Linked DNA regions of Homo sapiens: region 1 is linked to region 2. The links are contacts of gene promoters, found by promoter capture Hi-C in human tissues and cell types (Jung and others, 2019). All regions are on one chromosome and are shown on one strand. The core of a region is centred on a gene start or on the middle of the fragment in contact, and the rest is flanking DNA. Distances in the headings are between cores, read along the strand shown. Region 1 overlaps DRAXIN (dorsal inhibitory axon guidance protein). Region 2 holds the start of DFFA (DNA fragmentation factor subunit alpha).

Region 1 (4,244 bases), core at 1,736-4,235, 1.3 Mb after region 2:
TGGGATAAGAAGTGTTTGGGGAAAAGAATCATGTTGGCCTTTATGTCCCTGTGGTCCTGATCATCCAGTCCTGGACAGGCACTTTACAGTTTTCTGGAGCACTTCCCCCCCAGGGGTTCTGATGCAAGCATGGAATCCAAAAAAACCCCACACATATTGCCCATGTTTACCCACTTTGCATACTGTTTAGTGATTTCCAGGACCACAAAACCATCCCTGGAACCCCACCCCACATTTTTGCAGCAGAGCCCACTGGGAAGTTGAGGCTCACCTGAAATTGAGGTGCTATCTGAAGCTAACTGCCCCTAACAGGCCAGACTCACAATGCCCACCCAGGACATCTGTCCCAGCAGATCTGGCTTCAGGGGTCACTTCAGGAGAACCATTTAAATCCCCCCACTTGGCATCTCACTCCTGGCCAACCCTCTGTTCCAGGGCGAACCAGGTTGCAAATGACAAAAGACTTTCCTGGCCAAATTCCTCACTGGCCTGGATCACGCCCATAAGATGCCAGAGATGTTTACTGCGTTGGAAAAATCAGTCGGGGTCAGGGGTCAGGCACCAAGGAAAGCAGGCAGATCTAGAAGAAATTAAATATGCTTGTTCTCTCCCTATCCAAGTTTGATGGGCATGGGAACCTTGTGGGGAGGGAGCAGGGAGGGCAGGGGAACTGGGAGATCAAAGCAGGCTAGCTGAAAGGCAGATATGGCTAGACACAATGGCTCATGCCTGTAATCCCAGCACTTTGGGAGGCTGAGGTGGGCGGACCACCTCAGGTCAGGAGTTTGAGACCAGCCTGGCCAACATGGCAAAACCCGGTCTCTACCAAATATACAAAAATTAAGGCTGGGCACGAGGGCTCATGTCTGACATCCCAGCACTCTGGGAGGCCGAGGTAGGCAGATCACTTGAAGTAAGGCGTTCGAGAACAGCCTGACCAACATGGTGAAACCCCATCTCTACTAAAAATACAAAAATTAGCCAGGCATGGTGGCAGGTGCCTGTAATCCCAGCTACTCAGGAGGCTCAGGCGGGAGAATCACTTGAACCCAGGAGGCGGAGGTTGCGGTGAGCCAAGATCACGCCATTGCACTCCAGCCTGGGCGACAGAGTGAGACTCCAAAAATATAAAACACTTAAAAATGTAAAAAGGCAGATCTGCCAGCAGCTTCGTACTTGAGACCAGACAACCCACACATGCTGTGTGTGCCTCACATTAAGTGGTGACTCGGGACTGTGCTGGCTCTGTGGGGCTAGAACCCTAAGGAGTACCGCCGGAAGAAAGCCCAGCATTACTATGGCTGGGGGACAGCTGTTAGATGGTCCTAGGACATCAGCCATGGAGAACACAGAGGGTCAGGACAAAGCTAAAATGCCCATAGAACTGCCACTGGTTGCCAGGGTAGTTCCATGGTTGGAAATTCAAGGCCCGTCTCTTTGCCCTAGCTATCTCTATTTGACATTTCCAAAGAGGGATGGGTGGATGGAACCTCTTAACTCCAGAGCTGGGAATCCCAAAGCCCTCTCAAGTGTCTAACCAACCTCTCTGCCAGGAAGTTCTTCCTTAGGTCTATCTTAAATTTATTTTGCTCATACAGAAGCCAGTTTCCTCTAATCCAGGGTTTAGCAAACTTTTACTGTGAGGAGCCAAATAAACATTTTAGGATTTGCAAGCCATCTGATCTCCACCAGCTACTCAGCTCTGCCGTAGCTCGAAGCAGCCACAGAGAGTGTGTAAATGAATTCATGGCTATGCTCCAGGAAAACTATTTCTGGACACACATGTGAATTCTGTATACTTTTCACATGTCACAAAATATTATTCTCTCTTTCCTTTTTTTTTTTTTTGGAGATGGAGTTTTGCTCTGCTGCCCAGGCTGGAATGCAGTGGCTCAGTCTCAGCTCACTGCAACCTCTTCATCCCAGGTTCAAGCAATTCTCCTGCCTCAGCCTCCCAAGTAGCTGTGACTACAGGCATGTGCCACCACACCTGGTTAATTTTTGTATTTTTAGTAGAGATAAGGTTTTACCATGTTGGCCAGGCTGGTCTCAAACTTCTGACCTCAGGTGATCCGCCCGCCTCAGCCTCCCAAAATGCTGGGATTACAGGTGTGAGCCACCGCACCTGGCCATAAAATATTATTAGTTTAATTTTCTAAAACCATTTAAAAGTGCAAAAACTGCTCTTTGCTTGCCAACTGCGCAAAACCAGGCAGTGGGGCAGATTTGGCCTGAGGGTCACGGTTTGCCAACCCCTGCTCAAGCCTGCTCACTCTCAACGCTGGCTGCACGTTGCAATAATCCAGGAACATTCACAGGCCTGGGGCCCACCCACAAAGCTTCTGTTTTGTTTGGTCTGGGCTTCATAGTTTTTCTCCCAGGTAACTTCAGGTGCAGCTGGGGCGGAGAGTCTCTGCTCTCCCCTTCCATCTGTAGCAGTGTGGCTGGTGTTAAATCCACCTATTCCACCTCTCACAGCTTTGGCAACCTTAGGAAAGTTTCTTAAGGTCTCTGTGCCTTGATTTTTTCATCTGTAAAATGGGAATAATAACTCTCCCTTCATAGGGTTGTTGTGAGTAGTGAATGCATACTTCTTTTTTTTTTTTTTTCTTTTGAGACAGAGTTTCACTCTTGTTGCCCAGGCTGGAGTGCAGTGGCACGATCTCGGCTCACTGCGACCTCTGCCTCCTGGGTACAAGTGATTCTCCCGCCTCAGCCTCTCGCGTACCTGGGATTATAGGCAAGCATCACCACGCCCGGTTACTGTTTGTATTTTTAGTAGAGATGGGGTTTCACCATGTTGGCCAGGCTGGTCTCAAACTCCTGACCTCAGGTGATCCCCCCGTCTCAGCCTCCCAAAGTGCTGGGATTACAGGCATGAGCCAGCATGCCTGGCCTGTGAACGCAGAATTCTTATAAGGTGTTTAGAACAGTGCCTAGCACCTAATAAACCTCCAGTGTTAGCTAATTTGTTATTCTAGGAGAATTTTAGATGTCGGTTCTTTGACAATGACCCATCACATACTCTGAGATCATTTCTAAGTCACCATTCAAGCTCCTTCCCCAAAGTGTGTTCCATAGAACACTGGGACCATGAGATGCTCTATTAGAAAGGGTCAGGGTACGGTTCCATGGTCAGAGAGGTTTGGAAAACTGTTCTGGCCTCAGCCCTTGGCAGCATGTGCAGATTCCAGGCACCGAGGCAGGGCTGGAGGAGTAAGTGGCTTTGCAATAAAATGGGTGCTGGAGTCTAAAATGATACCCTGGGTGGAGTGGGGGAGCTGAGCAGGAGGCCAGGTGGCAACCAGTAGCTGCTGGGCCCGTGGCCTGAACCCTCCTGCACTCCTCCAGCTGGAGTCTCACCGCGGATCCCAGGAATACCTGCTGTTCCCACAGGGCTGCCTTTCCGTAGTTTGTCTGGAGACACCAAGAGTGGTTTCCATGCCTGCTGGGAATAGGCTGAGCATGCAATGACATGAGGGCCAAGGCTTGTGGGAAAATGACAGCTTCACAGCCCCTTGAGGAGTGACCAAGCCACAAAGTAAATCCTAAAGCCACAACCCCTTCTACCACTGAGCTGCTGGAGGTGGGTCCTTATTTCAAGCCATATTCAACCCACCCAACAAAACCTAACATTGAGGTGGTGGGCACACGGCCCCTGCCGTGGGGCTCACTCTGCAGCTGGAGAGACAGCATACCTGAAACCTGCAAGGAACCGGTTTATAAAACAACAGAACAGCCAGGAAAATGGTGCTAGGAGAGACAGTGGAGAGGCCAGAGAAGCAAACCACTGTGGCTCCTCACTGGGGGTTTCACGGGGTTGGACTGAGCCCTGTCACCTCTGTGATAGTCTTCACTCTGACAGGCAATGGTGACTGTGTGTGTTTCCTGGGGAGGAGGTTAGCAGGGACGGTTGCCTTTCCTGGGAAGGGCAGTTTGCAGAACCAGGGGTTTATATTGCAGGGAGTGTATTTTCTGAATTCTAAGTCAGAACAAGCAGTCTGATACAGGATCCATGGCTGGGTCACTTCTGGGTGCAAGAGGCTTTCTAGACCTTAGACACTCAAGATTACGGTCCCGGGCCAGTAACAGCACCTGGGAGCTTGGTAGAAATGCAGAATCTTAGCCTAGGCAACATAGGGAGACCTCATCTCTGCAAAAAATAACAAAATTAGCCGGGCATGGTGGTGCACACCTGTAGTCCCAGCTATTCTCCAGGCTGAGGTGGGAGGATCGCTTGAGCC
Region 2 (3,941 bases), core at 507-3,006:
CACCAAAAAGGCCAGGCACGGTGGCTCACGTCTGTAATCCCAGCACTTTGGGAGGCCGAGGCGGGTGGATCACAAAGCAGGCAATCGAGACCATCCTGGCTAACATGGTGAAAAACCGTCTCTGCTAAAAAATACAAAAAATTAGATGGGCGTGGTGGTGGGCGCCTGTAGTCCCAGCTACTCGGGAGGCTGAAGCAGGAGAATGGAGTGAACCCGGGAGGCGGAGCTTGCAGTGAGCCGAGATAGCGCCACTGCACTCCAGCCTGGGTGACAGAGTGACACTCCGTCTCAAAAAAAAAAAAAAAAAAAGAAAATGCTTTTTGTTCTTTACAGTATCTTCCTTAGCAGCTTCTTTTCTAACCTATGGGAAAGTATAAAAGAAGTGGAAGCTTCTATCAGTAGCTTTTCATATCATTATCATTGGCGGAGAGGCTTTCTCCAGGACAGGTCTGTACTATTCCATTTAGTGATAGCAATGCTTCAAATACTAACGGGACTGGAGTGATCAGAAATAGCCAAGAGACTACAAATATCCTTCAGCGGTGTTGTCTACCACCCAATAGAACAGCAAGGCATGTATGCGCTGGACTGCAGAGAACACCAGCCTCTGTGCCACGCACATCCAGCCACGGCACTGAAGGGGAATTAGAAGTAAAGTAATCTAATGTCAGGAAAAAAAATACATAAATGCTTATATGCAAAATCCATGTTACCAAAGCATTTATAATGCTTTGGCTGTTCATGGGTCTCTGAAAATTTCCATATGATTTCTGTTGGTGACTGAGAGGAAGCAACTGTGCCCTCTGACACACACTGTGACTACATGCCTGGGGCTGGCTCACACATGTAACCTGTAAAACTTCTTTGGGTAAGCGATTTGTTGCTACTGGCTAATAAGACTTGTAAGTCACTTAAATATATCATCTTATTTGAGAGAACCAACAACCCTTTGAAGCAGGGCTATAAATATTATACCCAATTTGCTGATGAGAAAACTGAGGGTTGAGAGCTGGTTAAGTGCAAGGCCAAGCAGCTGGTAAAGGTATGGGGCCGGGCTCGGAACTTCCGTCGGCTCCGTCACTTACAACTCACGTTCCTTGTCTGGACCTCCAGAAATGGTCAGTAGCAGCTCCCTCTTTCCTGCATAGGTTCCTGCCAGAGCGGACGGTGGAAACCCCTCCCCACACCGCCGTGGGCTCAGCTGGGGGTTCTTGTACCATCTGAGTGTGGCGGAGTGGCAGGAACCCAGTGGGGTCCGTTTGGTCCAACATCGAAGTGATTTCAGGCAAGAGACCTAAGCCGAGTCTGGCTTAATTTGCACATTGCTTCCTGGCTGTCTTCCCACCACCGTGGAGTCTCACACGAGATTAATTACGCTCAAGCGCCTTAAATCTGTAAATCGCTATGCCCACTCGGACCGTTTCTGTCCCAAGCCTCCACCCGAGATACAAGAATCCCCAAGTCGCCTCTCCTGACCCCGCCTCGCCCCCGCCGGACGTCCTCACCCGGCCCTGGCTCCCCCACACCCTCGCCCGGGGTCCCGAGCCAACCCTTGCTCCTCAGGTCTTCGAGGCAGGAGGCGGCCACGCCGTGCTGTTCGCGGCTGTAGTTGCGGCGCAGCAGACACGGCTTTAGAGTCCGGATCTCGCCAGATTCTGGTACCCCGGCGTCCCCGGTCACCTCCATCCTCCACAAGGTGGGACCTGCCCACCTTCGAGAAGTCGCGGGAGGCCGGAGCGGCGGTCCTTCTACTCGACCCCCTTCCGCAGCCTGCCGGGAGATGTAGTTCGTTCCGCAGCAAATCACACGTGAGACCAGGGCACGCCGGGAAATGTAGTTCTAGTTGCCGCTAATCACGTGTGGCGTCGAAGCATGCCGGAAACTGTAGTCTCTGGGTTTAAAGCCGCTTTCGTTCTATCGCGCGATTCAGCCTAGGAGTTGTTTTTAACTTTTAGGAGCTGCATTCGCGCGTTCAAATATAAGGCCAATAGAGACTTATTTTGCATGACGATGCACACGCATGTATACTGTATTGAATTTTTAGAGCATTCCTATTCGCATATGAGATGCATAATGCTAATACAGACACCCGCATGTTTCCACCCATTCTATTTCCTGCTTCAACTGTGCAAATTAGTTTGGGGTCTCAGAACAAAACGCTTAAATAAATATAGTAAGCATTAAAGTCTCAAATGCATCGGAGAGGAAAGGGGAAATGCGACTCGGCACTGTTGGAGATTGTTCAGATGCCTCTTGACAACATATTCATCTTTGTTTTAATACTGCTACTATGGAAAAGTTTGTTTTTTTCCTCCTGAAAAATAAACATCTAAGATTAAAAGAATAGTAATAAAAATGATCAAAAAGTTCCTCTCTTAAAAGAGGGCATTTTATGTAAACTAGAAGTAATTATCTGCTCATATTTATTCATTCGGGGGACACTTTCCTTCCTTGTTTCTTTTTTCTTTTTTTGAGACAGCGTTTCGCTCTGTCTCCCAGGCTGGAGTGCAGTGGCGCGATGATGGCTCACTGCAGTTTTGATCTCCTGGGCTCAAGCAATCCTCCCACCTCATATTTTGTTTATAAAAACGTGGGCAAGGGCCCCGGGGGCGGTGGCTCACCCCTGTAATCTCAGCACTTTAGGAGGCCGAGGCGGACAGATGATCTGAGGTCAGTAGTTTGAGACCAGCCTGGCCAGCATGGTGAAACCCTATCTCTACTAAAAATACAAAAATTAGCCGGGCGTGATGGCGCACGCCTGTAGTCCCAGCTCTTGGGAGGCTGAGGCAGGTGAATCGCTTGAACCCGGGAGGCGGAGGTTGCAGTCGGCCCAGATCGCACCATTGCACTCCAGCCTGGGCGTCAGGAGCAAGACTTCGTCTCAAGCAAAAACAAAAACAAAAGCAAAAACAAACAAAAAAAACGTGGGAGAGGAAATTGGATATTATCTCAAGAAAAGTTTAGACATTTAAAACAGCGTTTAGTAGGAGGAATTATTCATTAAGTCATCCCTTTTAAGCAGTCTATATTGATCAAAACACAACTATAATAGGAGCTGGCGGTTAACTCTAATGTATGTATCCTTTTTCATATAATTTCATTTTTTATTTTCTTATCTTATTTTTAGACAAGGTCTCGCTCTGTCGCCCAGGCTGGAGTGCAGTGGCATAATCATAGTTCACTGCAGCCTCAACCTCCTGGGCTCAAGGGATCCTCCTGCCTTGGCCTCCTAAAGTGTTGGGATTACAGGTGTGAGCCACTGCTCCCGTCCAATATTTAATTTAAAATCTAACAATTAAAAAAATCTAACAATTCAACCAGTGTAAAATAATGACGTTTTGTAGAAGCCTCTTCTCTTCAAAATGCCCCCTTTTATGTTCTCCCAATAGACCTGCACACTTATCCGAGTCCTATCCCCATAATACTGTAATTGTAAGTGTGTTTGGCCTGGGCGTGGGAGTAGGGATTGAGTCTTGAATGTTTTTATTTCAAGGCCTACCAAAGTCCCTAGCATATAGTAGGCACTCAATGAATGGAACTGAACTGATGTCTAAAAATTAATTTCCAAGTTTCTTCGCATTCATCCATTGGCAAGTCCCTAAATGTGCCCATGGCACTGTGGGGATGGGCAGAGATTAACTCAATAAGAATAATATGGGCCGGGCGCTGTGGCTCACTTCTGTAATCCCAACACTTTGGGAGGCCGAGGCGGGCAGATCACCTGAGGTCGGGAGTTCGAGAGCAGCCTGACCAACATGGAGAAACTCCATCTCTACTAAAAATACAATGTTAGCCGGGCATGGTGGCGCATGCCTGCAATCCCAGCTACTCGGGAGGCTGAGGCAGGAGAATCACTTGAAACCGGGAGGCTGAGGTTGCGGTGAGCCGATATCGCGCCATTGCACTCCAGCCTAGGCAACAAGTGCGAAACTCCGTCTCAA

Evidence for each region. Contacts are between HindIII fragments. The study calls those that stand out against the background at their distance.
Region 1: a fragment that was not itself captured here is called in contact with the fragment with the promoter of DFFA in region 2 in 1 of the 25 tissues and cell types used here (aorta).

What each region holds. Positions count from the first base shown.
Region 1 is chr1:11,720,996-11,725,239 of GRCh38, forward strand. DRAXIN (dorsal inhibitory axon guidance protein) reads left to right here. Exons shown (of 7, transcript NM_198545.4): 7 at 1-4,244. Among named protein-coding and RNA genes, the nearest start is that of AGTRAP, 13 kb to the right of the region's middle. The HindIII fragment of the contact is 8,805 bases long and covers 1-4,244 here.
Region 2 is chr1:10,470,773-10,474,713 of GRCh38, forward strand. DFFA (DNA fragmentation factor subunit alpha) reads right to left here and starts at 1,757. Exons shown (of 6, transcript NM_004401.3): 1 at 1,551-1,757. The coding sequence starts at 1,686. RefSeq lists enhancers at 1,226-1,325, 3,287-3,941. The HindIII fragment of the contact is 16,915 bases long and covers 1-3,941 here.